Linked DNA regions of Homo sapiens: region 2 is linked to region 1. The links are contacts of gene promoters, found by promoter capture Hi-C in blood cells and fetal thymus (Javierre and others, 2016). All regions are on one chromosome and are shown on one strand. Each heading gives the region's core, a stretch centred on a gene start or on the middle of the fragment in contact. The rest is flanking DNA. Distances are from core to core; before and after follow the strand shown.

Region 1 (2,920 bases), core at 242-2,741:
TGGATATCTATTCTAAAGTCCTTGAAACAGTTAAGTCCAATTCTCCAGATGGAAAACAGGTCCAGAAAAGGCCTGGTCTCCAGTTCCCTCCCTTCTCCCTTCGAACATGTCTTACTCTCTAGAGCAAGATTCCAGGCCTGAAATATGGCTTCCCAATTACCTAAGGATGAAGCCTCAAATCTTTGGCCTGGCATTTAAAAGACTCCGTAATCTTGTTTTACCCAACCTCACTTCCCATTCTTAGGCCTCTCTTCTCACCATCTCCCAGGTCACTGCCAAGCCTTTGCCAATGCTGTACCCCAGGCCTTAATCTTTTTCCTGACTCTCCTTCAAGATCCAGCTTATCCCTGTGGGCTGAGCATGCAGTAGATGCTCAATAAAATTCTCAGCGAGCCCAAGGCCCCCTCTCCTGCACTGCCCTTGGCGTGTTGAAATCAAGTGGGGGCCTTGTTTTAATCATCATTTTCCTAGCTTGTCGGGCAGCCCAGTCCAGGGCCTGGCACAAGGGACCCTCAGCATCCAATACCAGCCAGGATTGGGAGGGGCTCAGTGACCAGCCAGTTGGGCCACCCCAGCTCTTTGCCACAAGAGAAAGTTCAGCCTGGGTTTGGACTCAGATCCTGGCCCCACCACTTACAGGCTGCGTAACCCTGAGCAAGTCACTAACCTCGCTTTTCCTCAGGTTCCACGTTTTAAATATGGGGAGACCAGCTGTGCCCACTGTGGGCTGGGTAGTGAGGATTAAAGAGGAGGATGCTTGTACGGGACTAGCACTGGGCTGGCTCCTAATGTGTCCTGAATATTACTTGTCCCGCCCTGGCCACCCAGTCCCCTCCTCTGGTGGAAGGCACAGCCTGCCCAAGGCTACGTCTCAGGTTGGGTTCGATTGTGTGTGTCTGTGTAGCGGGGCTGTCCCCGAGGGTCGGACTCGATCCTGCCCGGACCAGTACAAGGTGTGGCCCAGCAGAACGCATGGACAGGCAGGGCTCGGGGCGGGCGGGACGGCTGGGGCGGGGCTGGGCGGACCCGCCCCTCGGGGCACGCGGTCTCCCGGCTTCTCCGCCAGTATGTTTGCTTGCTTTTGGGGCCCTTCTCAAGCCAGATCTCTAACGTGGATGGAGTGGCGCGTTTCAGGGTGGGGCTATGACAATGCACTGCCTGTGCAGCCGCCATCACCGCGCCCCCTCCACCGGCTCCGCAGTCTCCTGCCCGGCTTTCCCTTCTCCACCTCCATCTCTGCGGCGGTAAAATGCAGCACTCGCAGAGCGCCTGCGCGGCTTTCAGGCCGGGCGGCGGCGGCGGCGGTGGCTATTTATAGTAGGTGACGTCACCTTGAAATAGACCGTTAGGGCCGGCCCGCCCTTCCCCCCTCCCACTCCCGCCGCTCCCCGCCGCCCGGCCTGGCCACTCTCACTGCGCAGGCGTCGTCCCGTCCTCCCATCCCCCAGCGCGGCCGCGTCTCCTCCCTCGGCGTTGTCCGCGGCGCGAGCCACAGCGCGCGGGGCGAGCCAGCGAGAGGGCGCGAGCGGCGGCGCTGCCTGCAGCCTGCAGCCTGCAGCCTCCGGCCGGCCGGCGAGCCAGTGCGCGTGCGCGGCGGCGGCCTCCGCAGCGACCGGGGAGCGGACTGACCGGCGGGAGGGCTAGCGAGCCAGCGGTGTGAGGCGCGAGGCGAGGCCGAGCCGCGAGCGACATGGGGGACCGGGAGCAGCTGCTGCAGCGGGCGCGGCTGGCCGAGCAGGCGGAGCGCTACGACGACATGGCCTCCGCTATGAAGGCGGTGAGCGCGCCGGGAGCCCGGGCGGCTGGCCGGGGGGGGCCTGGCGTTGGGGAGGGACGGGGATGGCCGCGGGCGCGTTCCCCTCCCGGCCATGGGCGACCCGGCGACCCGGCTGGGCGTGGCCGCCCGCCCGCCCTTAGCCCGCGCTTCCCGCTCCCGCTGGGCGCCCCGCCACTTCCTGAGGCTGGGCCCAGGGTGGGGGATCCGGGAGGGTGCAGTTCGGGATCGCGAAGGCAGCCCCGGAAGGGGGGCGGGCCGGTCGGGGTCGCCACATCTTAGTTCGGAACCCGGCCGGGGGCAGAGGGTGCCCTAGGGGACGCGAAGGAGCCGCATTTCTCCTAGAGCGTTTCACCGGACCCGGGGGCTCCCCCTCTCGTCTTCCTCCGTTCCCCAACTTGGAATAAAGAATCACCTAGTAAGTGGCGCCCTGTCTCAGCTGGTTTTCTCTGCCACGACCTGAAGTCTGCAATTCCGATCTGTTTTGCTCTGCTCGTTCGAATTGTTCTGGTTCCATCTTCCCACGCCTGGGGGTCTGGCTTTGTGTGCGAAGACCCCTTTCCTGCAGTCTAGGCGTGGACGGGGGCGGGAGAGTGGGCGGAGGGTGTGGGGCCCCACTCCACAGCCCCAGGTTTGCTGCTGCGCTGTCTGCTTGGAGATTAAAATGAAACGTGACTTCTAGGTGAGACGAATCTGTGTGTCTTTGCATTCCTGAGACCCTCATAAATCGATTCTGCAGCTTCTCCGGTGGATGAGTCGTGCCCAGCCACACCCTAGCAAAATACCGTGGGTCACACACCACCTGCATTTCTGAGTTCCGGTTACCATCTCACTCTCTCTCCACGTTATTTTACGTTTTCTGTAAATGAATATTTCCTCTCCCTGCGTCAAGGTCACACAGTGGTAGAACAACTGCGACCACCAACCTATGTTCAGTGTACAACCTCCTGAGACCTGGGAGGATCCCCTTGAACTCCGCCTTAGACCTATACATTCAGAAATTCGGGCGGTGAGACTCAGACATCTGCATTGTAACCAGCTCTCACAGGCGATTTTTAGCTGGCTTAAGTCTGAGAATTACTGCCCATGATTATAGTAAATGTATCCTTTGCTGGCCTTTTGGAGGGAGTTCCGAAAAAAAACTGC
Region 2 (2,920 bases), core at 294-2,793, 54 kb before region 1:
TTGAATATTTTCTGCAGCACTCCTGATAAGTGGGGAGCAAGCTTCTCTTTGAAAAACCCCCTCAACATGGCACTCACTCCCAAGACTGCTTGTTCTGTACCTGGGCACCTCTGATTGTTACGTAGAGTATCACTCCCCTACCTGGGGTTGCATTTTTCTCCTCTGCTGACACTGTCCCCTTCCCCAGGTTACTGATAACCCCCTAGCTATGACCTGGGTGAAGGATGCTCAGCCTATTCCTCCTCTGGGCTTGCATGTATTTATTGGTCTTGTGTGAATAAGTTGGTTCTCATGGAACTCACGTAATGATTCTATGAACTTACTGAAAGCTGAACTCAGCTGGTCTCATATCTTTATCAACATCATAATCCGCTAGAAACATATGTACTGCCAAATCTATCCCCAAAGTACAGGGCCAGTAGTATCTTCAGCCTGTAACCACTTGGTTGAACAGCGTACTTCCTGGCCCAGGCCAGCATGTTCTGAACTTAACATGCCAGATGGGAGAGAAGAGATGCATGAGGCCACTGCTGGTATTTATTGAATATCCTCGTCTTTGTGACACAGACTTTTCACTTGGGAAGAAACACACAGTGTCCAAGACCAGAGGGCAAAACTTCTTTTTTTTTTTTTTTTTTTTTTTTTCCAGACAGAGTCTCGCTCTGTTGCCTATGCTGGAGTGCAGAGGCGCTCACTGCAAGCTCCGCCTCCCAGGTTCACGCCATTCTCCTGCCTCAGCCTCCCAAGTAGCTGGGACTACAGGCACCCGCCACCATGCCCGGCTAATTTTTGTATTTTTAGTAGAGACGGGTTTCACCTTGTTAGCCAGGATGGTCTCGATCTCCTGACCTCGTGATCCACCCGCCTCGGCCTCCCAAAGTGTTGGGATTACAGGTGTGAGCCACTGTTTTGATTTTGGCTAAGTAAAGGGTTATTCTGGCAGTATCAGGAATCCATAACATGAAGCAGAGACAGAATGTAGTTTTGATGAGCCTTTTAGCATTGGAGTGACCAAGTTCTTTAGCCTTAAATGTCACAGACAGCCAACCAGTGTCCATGGGCGGCACAGACAGGCCTCAGATTGAACATTGGCAAACTAATGGCCTAAATTGGGAGAAGAGACCAGCAGGAACAGAAGGAAAAGAGGAGAGTTACAAGTTAGGTGGCTGGGTAAGGCAAGAGAGGAGGTCCACACTCCTTTCTCATCCATGCTTCACCTGATTCTCATCCTGTCTCTATGAACCATCTGGGCTGGCACATCTCAGTTTGTAGTTCAGGAACTAAATCAGGAGAGGTGAAACAATGCTCTCTGAGACATATGGTTACTAAATGGCAGAGCTTAGATCTTCCAACTTCAAATCAATAAGTTTTCCCATTTGCATGTTCTAGGTTTTTGTTTGTTTTTCCATTCATGAGATATTTATTAAAATAACACATTTGGGGGAAAAAATCAATACAACATAGACATCACTACTGAAAACCATATATCATCATACAAAAAGGGATTTTGGCCAGGCATGGTGGCTCATTATTATCCCAGCACCTTCGGGGGCCGAGGTGGGCAGGTCAATTAAGGCTAGGAGTTCGAGATAAGCCTGGCCAACATAGGGAAACCCCAACTCTATTAAAATACAAAAATTAGCTGGGCGTGGTGATGTGCACCTGTAGGCCCAGCTACCTGGGAGGCTGAGACACAAGAATCTCCTGAACCTGGGAGGCCCAGGTTGCAGTGAGCCGAGATCACGCCACTGCACTCCAGCCTGGGCAACAAAGTGAGATTCTGTCTCAAAAAAAAGATTTTTAAAATTTTTATTTTATTTTGAGATGGAGTTTCACTCTTGTTGCCCAGGCTAGAGTGCAATGGTGCGATCTCGGCTCACTGCAACCTTTGCCTCCCAGGTTCAAGCAATTCTCCTGCCTCAGCCTCCCGAGTAGCTGGGATTACAGGCATGCATCACCACGCCCGGCTAATTTTTTGTATTTTTATTAGAGACGGGGTTTCTCCATGTTGGTCTTGAACTCCTGACCTCAGGTGATCCGCCTGCCTTGGCCTCCCAAAGTGCTGGGATTACAGGCGTGAGCCACCATGCCCGGCTAAAAAATGAATTTTATTTTGGGAATGGTTTTCTAATTTATGGCAGATATTACTTTCAAAAATAATACCACAGAACAACACAATCTAGGTCAATCTTAAAGACTGACAGGCTGAGCAAGGAATGTTTTTATTTTTTTGTAGGAGCTCCTTCTTTAAACTGTCAAGTACTAGGGCTCTGCCTTTTGGAGTGATTTCAGCCACCAAGTCATCGACAATAACGTGTTCTAGTCCTTTCTCTTTAATTACCTCTTAATGCAAAAGCAAAAAACATATCACTTAAAATCATTATCTTTACATTATCTTTATCAACTCATCCTTTCAGCCACATTCAATTAATTTAGCTCAGCAGCTCTTTCAGGCGTTCTCTTACTCCGGTTTCTGTCAACTTTTGGTTAATCTCTGCTCTCATATTCATCTTGCTAACCACACTTCCTGGACTTAGTCTTTTGAGAGAATGGTGAGTGGTACATCTGGCAGCTGAATGCCAGTTTGCCTGAATGCCATTAGTGACCTAGCTGGAGCTCTCCTGCCTTACAACAGAAGCTCATTAAAATTGCTGACGCAAGAGCTGTTTATCTTTGTCAGTGAGAAAAACCCACTCAGGGCTTCTATCTGCAGAACCCAGAACTAAACTGACCACTTCAGCTGAAGAAAACTGTTGAATTCATGGGGGTAAGGGAGAATGAGGGGTGGATTATAGTTTATAGAAACCCTAGGTCTGGGGGTACATGTTCTCAGGATCTCTTAAGACTGTGCCTCAGGGAGGCAAAAAACAAACAGAAACCCTAGGTCTGGCAGTGCCCAGCCAGGCAGAACAGAAGCCTG

The links. Contacts are between HindIII fragments. The CHiCAGO score rates a contact against its expected background, and 5 or more counts as called.
Region 2: a contact is called between a fragment that was not itself captured here and the fragment with the promoter of YWHAH in region 1, in 4 of 17 cell types (erythroblasts, megakaryocytes, endothelial precursors and 1 more). The highest score is 9.3, in erythroblasts.

What each region holds. Positions count from the first base shown.
Region 1 is chr22:31,943,044-31,945,963 of GRCh38, forward strand. It overlaps YWHAH (tyrosine 3-monooxygenase/tryptophan 5-monooxygenase activation protein eta), which reads left to right and starts at 1,492. Exons shown (of 2, transcript NM_003405.4): 1 at 1,492-1,777. The coding sequence starts at 1,691. YWHAH-AS1 (YWHAH antisense RNA 1) reads right to left here and starts at 2,323. Exons shown (of 3, transcript NR_171018.1): 1 at 2,190-2,323. It overlaps LOC124900477 (a long non-coding RNA gene), which reads left to right and starts at 1,791. Exons shown (of 3, transcript XR_007068065.1): 1 at 1,791-2,192; 2 at 2,457-2,635. RefSeq lists enhancers at 1-811, 812-1,669, 2,413-2,462 and silencers at 933-1,082, 1,363-1,452, 1,463-1,682, 1,753-2,092. The HindIII fragment of the contact is 4,478 bases long and covers 1-2,920 here.
Region 2 is chr22:31,888,922-31,891,841 of GRCh38, forward strand. All of the region lies in intron 38 of DEPDC5 (DEP domain containing 5, GATOR1 subcomplex subunit), which reads left to right. It also overlaps the pseudogene LOC124905101. Among named protein-coding and RNA genes, the nearest start is that of YWHAH, 54 kb to the right of the region's middle. RefSeq lists an enhancer at 2,345-2,879. The HindIII fragment of the contact is 3,008 bases long and covers 40-2,920 here.